Regions from separate parts of the Homo sapiens genome. Here regions 2, 3, 4 and 5 are each linked to region 1. Evidence: promoter capture Hi-C in human tissues and cell types (Jung and others, 2019). All regions are on one chromosome and are shown on one strand. The core of a region is centred on a gene start or on the middle of the fragment in contact, and the rest is flanking DNA. Distances in the headings are between cores, read along the strand shown.

Region 1 (2,729 bases), core at 65-2,564:
TTTCCCCCGAGGTCCAGTAGCCCTTCAGCTCTTTTTTCTCATTGAAAAGCAGAATTGGGAAGATGGGCCCCTTGTCCCTACAACGCCCCCCAGCGCGGAGCAGAGGTCACAGAAATGTCAGCGCAGCGCATTTGCTTGCAGGAGCAGCAGCTCTGCCGCTCCTCCCGCTCGGTTCGCTGCCACCCACGCAGGAAGCCTCCTTGCTGTCCCTCCAGGCTATAAACTGGGTTAACCCCAGCAAAACCTGCATCAGTGCCCGGAGCCTCAGTTTCCTGTATGTAAAATGAGGGGGATCCTTTCAGCTCTAACATGTGAGTGATTTCATTCTCACATCCTCTAAAAGCTCATCAACTGCTCCCCTATCCGACCTCCCCTCCCAAGAGACGCCTGTTTGAATCCCCAGTGTCCTCTCCCTTCACTCTCCCACGCCAGTTTCGACGGACCCCAAACACACTTGTTCACGAGGTGTCCACATCTCTCCATCCACGCCATTCTCCTCCCCTAACCAAATGAATCCATTTTAAAATCGTTTACTATTTGATACAACCCCTAAGAGGCTTTGCCAAGAGACGCCCGGCAGCACCACAGGGCTAACTGCTTTCCCCGGGATTCTGACCCCCATTAACTAATTCCTAGTTCCCATCACCCGGGAGTTAGGAGGGCCGGCAGCGCCGGGTGCGGTGCCTGCGCGCGCGCCGGGCGGGGGGAGCCTCGGCGGCAGCGAGGACGAAGGCGGGGGCGGTAGCACGGGTCCCCCCATCCGCCCCCAGCGCTCGGGCCCCTAATGAGCTGCTGAAAGGGAGCGGGCTCCGGTGCGCGTGGCTCGCAGGCCTCCCGGAGTCCAGGGCGCCCTGATTGGCCAGCTGCGCCTCGCGACCTCCATTCATTAATAAATTAGCGGCACGCTCCAGCCGAGCGCGAGCCACCAATCACAATGGACAGCGGCGGCGACAACAGCCGCAGCTTGAGCCTCTGCGGCCGCTGCGGCTTCGCCAGCTCCGGCCGCAGCCCGGAGCTCCAACAGGAGCTTTAGAACCATTTTATGTTGATTAGATAAAGGGGGAAAAGAGAGGCGGGGGTGGTGGGAGGAGGAGGATGGATGGCAGGGCCAAGGGAGGGGGAAAGGCGGTGAAGAAAGAGGAAGAAATGAATGATGATAATGCAATGAAAAGAATAAGCCAGAGGAGGGAAAAGCGGGGGAGAAGGGGGGCAGGACTGACAGGAGGAGGAGGCGGTGGCGGGGGAGGAGGGGGCCCGGGGCAGATCTGATTGTTTTCTTGGTGGTATATAAGGGGTTTTAAGGAGAGTCGTGTGCCAGACACGCAGCCACTGAACCACAAGCAGCTTCGCGTTAACTGGAGTGCCTGGGAGTCGCGTGCCAGGAGCCGCACGGCCAGGGACTGACTGACAGACAGACACGCACCACCACCACAACACACGAGACCCGGGCGGGCCGCCGCCGCCGCCGCCGGGGCTCTTGGCAAACTCGCCGGTCGCAGAGGTCCCCCGCGGAGCTGCGCCACAGTAGCGCCGGGCTTGCAGCTTTCACGCCGGGCGAAGGACCCGGCGCTGCGCTCGCAGCTGCGCGGAGATTCCCGGCACAGGCCAAAGTCACAGCAACGCTGAGGCACAGTTAGAGCCAACTAAGTAAGTATTCGAGCCACCGCTTCCAACTACGCAGGTGGTTTCCCCGCACTCAGTCCAACCACACCCGCACGCCCTCTGCTCCGCGCAGAATCTTTGTCGCGGAGGCCGCAGTCCCTTCTCGGGGAGGGAACGCAGGACCGCCCGCGGAGGGCAGGACCCGGCTGACTGGCAGCAGGGTCACAGCGAGCGCTAGCGGCGCTCCTGACCTTGGTTAGCACTGCCTGGGTTTCTTCCTTCGCCTTCCTGCTCCGCGCCATTCGGAGCTGGTCTTCTCGGGTGCGCGCCGGAGCACGCCCCTGTGACACGAAGATCGCGCCTCTGTTTCTTTCCTTACACCTCACTGCCTTTTTCCCCTTTCTCTCTTCGGTAGGATGTTCGTCAAATCCGAGACCTTGGAGTTGAAGGAGGAAGAGGACGTGTTAGTGCTGCTCGGATCGGCCTCCCCCGCCTTGGCGGCCCTGACCCCGCTGTCATCCAGCGCCGACGAAGAAGAGGAGGAGGAGCCGGGCGCGTCAGGCGGGGCGCGTCGGCAGCGCGGGGCTGAGGCCGGGCAGGGGGCGCGGGGCGGCGTGGCTGCGGGTGCGGAGGGCTGCCGGCCCGCACGGCTGCTGGGTCTGGTACACGATTGCAAACGGCGCCCTTCCCGGGCGCGGGCCGTCTCCCGAGGCGCCAAGACGGCCGAGACGGTGCAGCGCATCAAGAAGACCCGTAGACTGAAGGCCAACAACCGCGAGCGAAACCGCATGCACAACCTCAACGCGGCACTGGACGCGCTGCGCGAGGTGCTCCCCACGTTCCCCGAGGACGCCAAGCTCACCAAGATCGAGACCCTGCGCTTCGCCCACAACTACATCTGGGCACTCACCGAGACCCTGCGCCTGGCGGATCACTGCGGGGGCGGCGGCGGGGGCCTGCCGGGGGCGCTCTTCTCCGAGGCAGTGTTGCTGAGCCCGGGAGGAGCCAGCGCCGCCCTGAGCAGCAGCGGAGACAGCCCCTCGCCCGCCTCCACGTGGAGTTGCACCAACAGCCCCGCGCCGTCCTCCTCCGTGTCCTCCAATTCCACCTCCCCCTACAGCTGCACT
Region 2 (2,729 bases), core at 76-2,575, 61 kb after region 1:
AGTCCATGATCAAGCCTCCACTGAGGAGCCCCCACCTTGCTCCATCAAGCCATGGGTCATGCCCACAGAGCATGTCCAATGTCTGGACCCCATACTGGGCTGAAGCACTGCCATCCTGTGAAGAGGAAGGGTCTGCCAGGTCATCAAAGTGGTCAACCACATCTGAGACAGCCAATGAGGGATCAGAATCCAAAGAGATAGGTGGGATTTCAAATTCTTCATCACCTAAGCTTGGTGTATGGAATGTCTCGGCCCCTGACAGGAAGAGGTGTGACGGCCCTGTGATTGTCAGGTAATTGTCATTTCCTCCGGGAGACTCCATCTTCACACAACTGCTCCTACCATCTCAGACTGTCATCGCTCCCACCGCCCCACTGGACTCGGAACTGTGAGACCACTTCTTGTATCATGTGTATCCTATTTAACTTTCCTTAAACAAGCCTGTGTTCCTTGCATCTAAAAACCTTAAAATGTGTGTGAAACCCAGCATCTCAGAACCAGGAGCGCACCAAACTCACATTATGTGGTAGGCAACACTCTAAAGATGCCCTCCCCCAAGATTCTTATCTGTTGGTTGTTCAAACAGTAATACAGGCACTGCTGTAAAGTCCCAAGTCAGTTAACTTAATTAATTAATAAATTAATAAGTATTAATTAATTAATTAAGACAGAGTCTCTGTTGCCCAGGCTGGAGTGCAGTAGTGCGATCTCAGCTCACTGCAACCTCAGCCTCCTGGGTTCAAGTGATTCTCATGCCTCAGCCTCTCAAGTAGCTGGGATTACAGGCGTGAGCCACCACTCCTGGCTAATTTTTGTATTTCTAGTAGAGACGAGGTTTCACCATGTTGCCAAGGCTGGGCTTGAACTCCTGACCTCAAGGGATCTGCCCGTCTCAGCCTCCCAAAGTACTAGGATTACATGTGTGAGCCACCATGCCTGGTTGAAAGTCAGTTAACTTTAAAATATGGGGATTATCCAGGTGGGCCTGACTCAATTAGCTGACCCCTTTTAAAGCAGAAAGTTTTCTATGACTGGAAGCAGGAGAAGTCAGAGAAATTTGAAGCATGAGAAGGATTTAGTGTGCTGTTGTTGGCCTTGATGCTGGAGGGGTTCCATACAAGGACCACAGAGTGGCTACAAGTAACTGAGACAAACCCAGCTAACAGCCAACAAGGAAACAGCCACCTCAGTTCTACAACCACAAGGAACTGAATTTTACCAACATCAGGAATGAGATTGGAAGATGATCCCAAGCTCCAGAAGAGAACACAGCCAGCTGACAGATTGCTTTTAGGCCTGTGATACCCTGAGCTGAGGTGCCAGTCATACCATCCAGGATTTCTGACCTATGGAACTGTCAGATAACAAACAGGTATTGTTTTAAGCTGCTAAATTTGTGATAATTTATTAGGCAGCAATAGATGACTAATGCATGTTGATTTCAAGTGAATGGGACTCTCTGGAGCTGTGTGAGGCTGCAACCCTTAATGTAAATAATTTTGTGACCATGTGTTATCAGAGTCAAATACGTTTGGAAAACCACATTTTCATAATCAGGATGAAAGGTTAATGATGTTGAGTGGACTTATAGCAGAGACCGATCACAGAAAGCATGGAGGCAACACTATGAAACAAAACTTGAATACTCAAGTGTGGAGGTTAACGATACAGAAAGCAGATTCTATCAGTGAAAATTAAAGCAACTGGCATTCATCTAGGAATTAACCTTAGCTCAAGTGGAAAACACAACTAATATTGCTAACTCTAACTCTGCTTTGGTTTAAAGGATGAAAATATGGTGAATAAATAATGATAAAAAAATAGCAACAACAACCATTGATGAAACATTTACTCTTTGCCAGGCACCGTCCTAGCAAGGTTACATGTGCTCTAATTCTCACAAAAGTTTTGAAGTTGATACTATTAATCGTCTTTTAACCTTTGGGTAGTAGTAATGAAGAATGGTCCTGAGATTAATCAGGAAAGAGATGGGAAACAAAGGCAGCATTTTGGCACAGGAAGTTTAAATGCCTGTTTTAGTTTCATGATGTGCCTTTAATCTTGGAGTCTCAATAATCCTTAGCAGCTCTGGATAAAGGAGGAAACACACTCTTTAATTCATGAAACTCAATGCACTTAAAACACCTGGTTTCTGAGCCAGAACCAGTAAATTAGGCCCTCTTTATCACTTGTTTTAAAAGTAATTCATGCTTTATCTGAAGCATATCATGTAATAATGCATATAATATAGGTTAAAAACATTTACTGATCTTAAAAAATTGGATTACCAGTACATTTGGGTCACATAGTAGTAGAGTACTCCTAGAGATAATGATGCCCTATTCCTAGAGTCTAAGAACAGATGGCAATCAATTTCTCCGGCATTATCTGGTTTACAGATATATAAGAGCGATAAAAATCAACAGTAATAAAATACTGGTAACCATAATTTTCACCAATTTTATTCGTGTACCACAAAAATGATTTAATTTTCTTAATTAAATAAGCACTAAAATAAAAATCATGGAAAAGAAGATGGGCTCAATCTCCCTAAGTGATGGAGCACTCAAGCATTTTTACTTTTTCACTGAGACAAAAACCAAAAGCAAATAACAAACAAACAACAACAAAAAAAACCCTGTCCACCCAGGAGCTAATCCATTTTCCACACTCATTATCATTCAGATGAGTCTTTTGTAAGACAAAGATGTCAGCATAGCTTCTTTCAG
Region 3 (2,729 bases), core at 131-2,630, 56 kb before region 1:
GCTACACCTATCACCTGATCAGTATACACCGTATCAAATTTGTAGTCTTTTTATCCTTCACTGCCCCCCTTACCCTTTCCCCTGAGTCCCCAAAGTCCATTGTATTATTATTATGCCTTTGTACCCTCATAACTTAGCTCCCACTTATGAGTAAGAACATACGATGTTTGATTTTTCCATTCCTGAGTTACTTCACTTAGAATAGTGGTCTCCAGTTCCATCCAGGTTGTTGCAAATGCCATTATTCGTTTCTTTTTATGGCTGAATAGTATTCCATGGGTGTGTGTGTGTGTGTGTGTGTGTGTGTGTGTGTATCACAATTTCTTTATCCACTTGTTGATTGATAGGCATTTGGGCTGGTTCCATATTTTTGTAATTGGGAATTGTGCTGCTATAAACGTGTAAGTATCTTTTTTGTGTTTTCCTCTGAATAGATACCCAGTAGTGGGATTGTTGGATCAAATGGTAGTTCTACTTTTAGTTCTTTAAGGAATCTCCACACTGTTTTCCACTGGTTGTACTAGATTACATTTCCACTAGCAGTGTAAAAGTGTTCCCTTTCATCCCTGCCAACATCTATTAATTTTGATTTTTTGATTATGGCCATTCTTGCAGGATTAAGGCAGTATTGCCTTGTGGTTTTGATTTGCATTTCCCTGATCATTAGGGATGTTGAGCATTTTTTCATGTTTGTTGGCCATTTGTGTATCTTCTTTTGAGAATTGTCTATTCATGTCCTTAGCCCACTTTTTGATGGGATCATTTGGTTTTTTTCTTGCTGATTTGTTTGAGTTCCTTGTAGATTCTGAGTGTTAATCGTTTGTCAGATGTATAGATTGTGAATATTTTCTCCCACTCTGTGGGTTGTCTGTTTACCCTGATGATTGTTAATTTTGCTGTGCAGAAGCTTTTTACTAATAGTTTAATTAAGTTCCACTTATTTAGCTTTGTTTTTATTGTATTTGCTTTTGGGTTTTTGGTCATGAAGTCTTAGCCTAAGCCAAAGTCAGAAGGGTTTTTCTGATGTTCTAGAATTTTTATGGTTTCAGGTCTTAGATTTAAATCCTCGATCCATGTTTAGTTGAATTTTGTATAAGGTGAGAGATGAGGATCCAATTTCATTCCTCCACATGTGGCTTGCTAGTTATCCCAGCACCATTTGTTGAATAGGGTGTTTTTTCTCCACTTTATGTTTTTGTTTGTTTTGTCAAAGATCAGTTGGCTCTAAGTATTTGGCTTTATTTCTGGGCTCTCTATTCTGTTCTATTGGTTTGTGTGCCTGTTTTTATACCAGTACCATGCTGTTTTGGTGGCTATGAGATTTAAATCTTCAGTCCACTTGAAGTTGATTCTTTTTTCTTTTGTATATGGTATGAAGTAGGGATCCAGTTTCATCTTTTTCTTTTTAATTACCAATTTTGCTAGAATAGTAACCATTTTTTATTGATTAGTCTCTCTTTTCCTCACTGATCTGAAATGCTACCTCTGTCATATAATCAGGTTTAAAGTAGCTGTGTGTGTTCTTGACTCCCTATTTTATACTGTAGGTTAATTTGTATATTGTTGTACCAGTTCCACACTGCCTTAATTACCATGGCTTCATAAATCCAAATATCAAATAGTGCAAGTTCCCCTCTCTGTTCTTAGATGTGACCTGGCTGTTCTTGGTCCTTTACTCTTTCATATATATTTTAGAATCATCTTATCAAGTTTCATGAAAAACTTGTTGGGATCTTAATTGGAATTGTACCTATAAAGTTGAGAAGGGATGACATCTTTAAAATACCAAGATTTAGGGCTGAGCATGGTGGCTCACGCCTGTAATCCCGACACTTTGGGAGGCCAAGACAGGAGGATAGCTTGAGCTCAGGAGTTTGGAGACCAGCCTGGGCAACATAGTGAGACCTTGTCTCAGAAAAAAAAAAAATTAAGATTTAATACCATGTACTTGCTGTATCTCTGTTTATTTAAAAATTGTTTGTAACATCTTATAATAAAGTTTTGCAAATTTCCCTGTAGAAGTTTTGAATATTTTTATCTTAAATTTATTCATATTCTCTGATACCATTGTATTGTTTGTGTTTTTATTCTTCTGACCAGTCTTGCCTGAGGTTTGTCTTATTTTGTTATTGTTTTCGAAGAACTGACTTGGCTTTATTGATCAGAAGATCAGCAATGTATTTTTGTTTTGTTTTTATTGTTGTTATTGGCTTCCTCTCTAATTTTTATGATTTCTTCTATTTTGTTTAGGATAGTATACTGTTCTTTTTACACATCTTAAGCTTGATACTTAGCTAATTTTGAGGCTTTTCTCTTCTCTAATATAATTATTAGGGCTGTAAGTTTTCCTTAAAGTACCACTCTTTTTTTTTTTTTTTGAAATGCAGTCTGGCTCTGTTGCCCAGGCTGAGTGCAGTGGCACAATCTTGGCTCACTGCAACCTCCACCTCCTGGGTTCAAGTGATTCTCCTGCCTCAGCTTCCCGAGTAGCTGGGACTACAGGCACCTACCACCACACCCAGCTAACTTTTTGTATTTTTAGTAGAGACAGGGTTTCACCATGGTGGCCAGGTTGGTCTTGAACTCCTCACCTCAAGTGATCTGCGTGCCTGGGCTCCCAAAGTGTTGAGTTTACAGATGTGAGCCTCCATGCCTGGCCTACCACTCTATTTTTGCTGAAGTATTTTTTTCATTATAATTCAGTTTGTTTTAAGTTTTCCATTATGATT
Region 4 (2,729 bases), core at 64-2,563, 36 kb after region 1:
AATAGTGAGTGATAAGACAATATCAGGAAACCAAGCATGTATGATTTGCAGTCCACATAAAAGATGGAGAGAAAGAAAAAATATTATAGCACTAATGACCATAAATTTGATGAAATCTATGAAACCAACCATCCCAGTAGTTCAACAAATCTGAAGCAAAAAAACATATATATATATAAAAGTATGCTGTGGTATACAAAATGATCAAATTTCTAAAAATCAGTGATAAAAGATAATAAGGTTTTTAAGTAGTGAGAGAAAAAAATAGTTGGAGAAACAAAAGTGAGAAAGACAACAGACTTCTCTTCAGAAATAATGCGTCCAAACATCTTTAATATGGAATGACATATTTTAAAAAACTCCACCTAAAATTCTATACCCAGCAAAAATATCCTTTAGAAATGAAATTCAAATAAGGACTTATATAAACATTTAAAAGCCAAGATAATTCATTGGCAGCAGATAACTCCTTCCTCGAAAGAAAGCCTTTCAAGGCAGAATGAAAATGATACAAGATGGACATATGAATCTATAAAAAGAAATGAAGAGTGCCAGAAATGATAAACACTTGGGAAAATATAAAATACTTTTATTTAAAAAATATTTTTAGGTGGTTCCAAGATGGCCAAATAGGAACAGCTCCAGTGTGCAGCTCCCAGCATGAGCAACGCAGAAGACAGTTGATTTCTGCATTTCCAACTGAGGTACCGGGTTCATCTCACTGGAGCTTGTCAGACAGTGGGTGCAGCCCACCAAGCATGAGCCGAAGCAGGGCGAGGCATCGCCTCGCCCAGGAAGTGCAAGAGGCCACGGAATTCCTTTTCCTAGCCAAGGGAAGCTGTGACAGATGGCACCTGGAAAGTCAGGTCACTCCCACCCTAATACTGCGCTTTTCTGATGGTCTTAGCAAACGGCGCACCAGGAGATTATATCCCGCACATGGCTTGCAAGGTCCCATGCCCACGGAGCCTCGCTCGTTGCTAGCACAGCAGTCTGAGATTGAACTGCAAGGTGACAGTGAGGCTGGGGGAGGGGTGCCCACCATTGCTGAGGCTTGAGTAGGTAAACAAAGTAGCAGGAAGCTCGAACTGGGTGGAACCCAACTGCAGCGAAAGGAGGCCGGCCTGCCTCTGTACACTCCACCTCTGGGGGCAGGGCATAGCTGAACAAAAGGCAGCAGAAACCACTGCAGACTTAAATGTCCCTGTCTGACAGCTTTGATGTGAGTAGTGGTTCTCTTACCACGGAGTTTGAGATCTGAGAATGGACAGACTGCCTCCTCAAGTGGGCCACTGACCACTGAGTAGCCTAACTGGGAGGCACCCCCAAGTAGGGGCAGACTGACACCTCACATGGCCGGGTACCCCTCTGAGACGAAGCTTCCAGAGGAACAATCAGGCAGCAACATTTGCTGTTCAGCGATATTCGCTGTTCTGCAGCCTCTGCTGCTAATACCCAGGCAAACAGGTCTGGAGTAGACCTCTAGCAAACTCCAACAGACCTGCAGCTGAGGGTCCTGACTATTAAAAGGAAAACTAACAAACAGAAAGGACATCCACACGAAAACCCTATCTGTACGTCACCATCTTCAAAGACCAAAGGTAGATAAAACCACAAATATGGGGAAAAAACAGAGCAGAAAAGCTGAAAATTCTAAAAATCAGAGCACCTCTCCCCCTCCAAAGGAACACAGATCCTCACCAGCAACGGAACAAAGCTGGACGGAGAATGACTTTGACGAGTTGAGAGAGGCTTCAGACCTCAAACTTCTCCGAGCTAAAGGAGGAAGTTCGAACCCATCGCAAAGAAGCTAAAAACCTTGAAAAAAGATTAGATGAATGGCTAACTAGAATGACCAGTGTAGAGAAGTCCTTAAATGACCTGATGGAGCTGAAAAACATGGAACGAGAACTACGTGACGAATGCACAAGCTTCAGTAGCTGATTCGATCAACTGGAAGAAAGGGTATCAGTGATTGAAGATCAAATGAATGAAATGAAGCGAGAAGAGAAGTTTAGAGAAAAAAGAGTAGAAAGAAATGAACCAAGCCTCCAAGAAATATGGGACTATGTGAAAAGACCAAATCTATGTCTGATTGGTGTACCTGAAAGTGACAGGGAGAATGGAACCAAGTTGGAAAACACTCTGCAGGATATTATCCAGGAAAACTTCCCCAATCTAGCAAGGCAGGCCAACATTCAAATTCAGGAAATACAGAGAACACCACAAAGATATCCCCAAGAAGAGCAACTCCAAGACACATAATTGTCAGATTCACCAAAGTTGAAATGAAGGAAAAAATGTTAAGGGCGGCCAAAGAGAAAGGTTGGGTTACCCACAAAGGGAAGCCCATCAGACTAACAGCGGATCTCTCGGCAGAAACTCAACAAGCCAGAAGAGAGTGGGGGCCAATATTCAACATTCTTAAAGAAAAAAATTTTCAACCCAGAATTTCATATCCAGCCAAACTAAGCTTCATAAGTGAAGGAGAAATAAAATCCTTCACAGACAAGCAAATTCTGAGAGATTTTGTCACCACCAGGCCTGCCCTAAAAGAGCTCCTGAAGGAAGCACTAAACATGGAAAGGAACAACCGGTACCAGCCACTGCAAAAACATGCCAAATTGTAAAGACCGTTGATGCTAGGAAGAAACTGCATCAACTAATGAGCAAAATAACCAGCTAACATCATAATGACAGGATCAAATTCACACATAACAATATTAACC
Region 5 (2,729 bases), core at 135-2,634, 36 kb before region 1:
GATTCCTTACAAGTTAAATGAAATTAGTTGTATTCTAGGAGAAACAGTGATGGAGAGGATCTGACCCTGAGTAAAATATCCAAATGAAATTTGTGTTTGATGCTCTCCAAGAAAGCCAAGACTTTTAGTGTTTGTATATATCCAAGAATCCAGGAGGCTCAGACGCTAGCTTCCAGGTATTGGAAGCCAAGACTAAGCACACAAGATTCCAGGCTGTAACAGGTAGCACTATCTCCTTTATCAAGTTTTGATCTAGGGAAGCCTGGGCATCAGCTGTTGGAAGAGAAAAAATCAATCAGCAGCTTCCTCCTATGAAAGGAGAGCATGGGGAAAAGCAATGGGGATGGAGTAAAAGAAAGTTGTTGGCTTCTTGGGCCACTTGCACATTGGTAACTTTCTGCTAGAGAGTTGAGAAAATGAGTCTACTTGGGACACTGTATTGATCAGCTATTGCTGAAATAATGAGGGTTAACAAACTCAGTCTCAGTACTTTAAGACAACAGCTTATGACTCTACAGGTCAAGTGGTGTGGCTTGGCTTGAGGCTATGGGTAAAGTCTCTTATTCTGAGAACAGTTGCTATGGCATGATCTTCTAACAGATGGCAGAAGTGCAAGAGGGCAGGACAGATCACAGAAACACATTTAAAGCTTCAGTTCATATTATGTTTGCTGACATTCCATTTGCACAGGTCACACGGCCAAGCCTAACATCAGTGAGGCAGGGAAATATACTCCCCTACTTCTCTGGTGGGAAGCACTGCCAAGTAACATGGCAAAGGGTGTGGATATGTAATAATACTTTCCTAGGGCGGGAAGGAGAAACTGAAAATAATAACCAATCTATAACAAGTTTTGGTTCTGGAAGTCCTCAGAAAACTTCAGACTAACTTTCTGTTATTTGAATTATAGAGTTAACTCTATACTCTCTTCTTAACCAAATCCAGAAAGGCTTAGTTTGGCTGTGTTCAATTAATACAAATTAGTCATTTATGTAAACTACTTATCATTTTACTCACCCAACGTAACAATGATATATAAGAATCATTATTCATATATATCATTGTTAATGATTTCTTGGATGATTTTCTGAATGAAAGCCCAGTTACTATGATCTATTGCTCATTTGTATCACCTATTCACAAATGAAAACTATTTTAGAGGAATTATTTTTTAGAAATTTTCTCTGACATATTTCTAAGGTCCAGCCAGGCATTCGGACCTGACACATTTCTTTCTTTCTTTTTTTTTTTTTTTGAGCCAGAGTCTCGCTCTGTCACCCAGGCTGGAGTGCAGTGGCGCAGTCTCAGCTCACTGCAACCTCCACCTCTTGGTTCAAGCAATTCTCCTGCCTCAGCATCCTGAGTAGCTGGGACTACAGGCACATTCCACCGCACCCGGCTAATTTTTGTATTTTTAGTAGAGACAGGGTTTCACAGTGTTGGCCAGGCTGGTCTCAAACTCCTGACCTTAAGTGATCCTCCCACCTCTGCCTCCCAAAGTGCTGGGATTACAGGCATGAGCCACCGCGCCCGGAAGACCTGACTCATTTCTAAAGTGGCATGTCTTCACAATAAAACTAATTTTTAAAAATGCTTCATAGTTAATTAATACTTGCTAGGTCAGTAACAAAATCTTTTCTGCTGTTAGAATCTCAGCAACATAATAATAAATAAAAAGATAACATAATTTTTTAAAGAAAACTTAATACTTTAGGTTTTTGTATTAGATATTTCTTTAAATTTAAAAAATGCTTCTTGACACATAACTTTAGAGTTCTCATTCTAAGATTGTTTTGTAGATATAGTTGCCAGAAATTAAATAAAATGAATAATATTTCAGAGTGGCACCAAAGCTTGATCATTTTTAAAGAACTCAATATTTAAATACTGTGGAATTTCTGATATAAATGTGGCTTTAAGATTTTTGTTTTTGTTTTTAACAAAAGAAGAAAACCTAACTGATACAGGGCTATTGTGTGTGGTGAATATTATTTATTATTAAAATAAGGCAGTTGTAATGTTTTCTTATTTTGTAGGATCTGTGGAGGCAGTATTTAATTTGTAAAGCATATTTTTTGTTAGTTTGTTGAAAAAAGGTATGGTCAGTTGGTATGAACTGCCCTTGCTATCAAGAAGTGTAATTTTATAGATCTTCAGATTGTTAGAAGAGAATAAGTACAGTCATATATCATTCTGAGAAATGTATTGTTTTACAATTTTGTCATTGTGTGAACGTCATAGTGTACTTACACAAACCTAGATGGTATAGCCTACTACACACTAGGCTACATAGTATAGCCTATTGCTCCTCAGCTACAAATCTATACAGCATGTACTGAATACTGTAGGCATTTAATTGTAACATGGTGGTATTTCTGTATCTAAACAGAAAATGTACTGTGAAAATATGGTATAAAATATTTAAAATGGTACACCTGTATAGGGAGGGAGGGAAGGAGAAATTGGAAATAATAACCACAAAGTTTTGGTTGTAGAAGTCCTCAGAAAACTATATATACTATAGCTTTTTAATAGTTAACTTTATAGTTAACTGACCATGAATGGAGCTTGCAGGACTGGAAGTCACTGTGGCTGAGTCAGTGAGTGGGTGGTGAGTGAATGTGGAAGCCTAGGACATTACTGTACACTACTGTAGACTTCTAAAAAAATTTTTAATTTTTTTGAGATAGAATCTTGCTCTGTCCAGGCTGGAGTGCAGTTTGTGATCT

What was found. Contacts are between HindIII fragments. The study calls those that stand out against the background at their distance.
Region 2: a fragment that was not itself captured here is called in contact with the fragment with the promoter of NEUROG2 in region 1 in 1 of the 25 tissues and cell types used here (neural progenitor cells).
Region 3: a contact is called between a fragment that was not itself captured here and the fragment with the promoter of NEUROG2 in region 1, in 3 of the 25 tissues and cell types used here (adrenal gland, pancreas and stomach).
Region 4: a contact is called between a fragment that was not itself captured here and the fragment with the promoter of NEUROG2 in region 1, in 3 of the 25 tissues and cell types used here (aorta, pancreas and thymus).
Region 5: a contact is called between a fragment that was not itself captured here and the fragment with the promoter of NEUROG2 in region 1, in 4 of the 25 tissues and cell types used here (IMR-90 fibroblasts, bladder, psoas muscle and 1 more).

The regions. Positions count from the first base shown.
Region 1 is chr4:112,514,765-112,517,493 of GRCh38, reverse strand. It overlaps NEUROG2 (neurogenin 2), which reads left to right and starts at 1,314. Exons shown (of 2, transcript NM_024019.4): 1 at 1,314-1,647; 2 at 2,018-2,729. The coding sequence starts at 2,019. It overlaps NEUROG2-AS1 (NEUROG2 and ZGRF1 antisense RNA 1), which reads right to left and starts at 2,115. Exons shown (of 4, transcript NR_161159.1): 1 at 1,854-2,115. It overlaps LOC124900760 (a long non-coding RNA gene), which reads right to left and starts at 689. Exons shown (of 2, transcript XR_007058231.1): 1 at 455-689. RefSeq lists enhancers at 93-212, 313-412, 1-543 and silencers at 553-832, 2,153-2,222, 2,483-2,682. The HindIII fragment of the contact is 15,153 bases long and covers 1-2,729 here.
Region 2 is chr4:112,453,517-112,456,245 of GRCh38, reverse strand. It overlaps the pseudogene TOX4P1. Among named protein-coding and RNA genes, the nearest start is that of NEUROG2-AS1, 60 kb to the left of the region's middle. The HindIII fragment of the contact is 7,383 bases long and covers 1-2,729 here.
Region 3 is chr4:112,570,752-112,573,480 of GRCh38, reverse strand. The region is part of intron 16 of ZGRF1 (zinc finger GRF-type containing 1); the gene reads left to right. Among named protein-coding and RNA genes, the nearest start is that of NEUROG2, 56 kb to the right of the region's middle. The HindIII fragment of the contact is 5,551 bases long and covers 1-2,729 here.
Region 4 is chr4:112,478,583-112,481,311 of GRCh38, reverse strand. No RefSeq gene overlaps it. Among named protein-coding and RNA genes, the nearest start is that of NEUROG2-AS1, 35 kb to the left of the region's middle. The HindIII fragment of the contact is 4,196 bases long and covers 1-2,729 here.
Region 5 is chr4:112,550,803-112,553,531 of GRCh38, reverse strand. All of the region lies in intron 22 of ZGRF1 (zinc finger GRF-type containing 1), which reads left to right. Among named protein-coding and RNA genes, the nearest start is that of NEUROG2, 36 kb to the right of the region's middle. The HindIII fragment of the contact is 4,769 bases long and covers 1-2,729 here.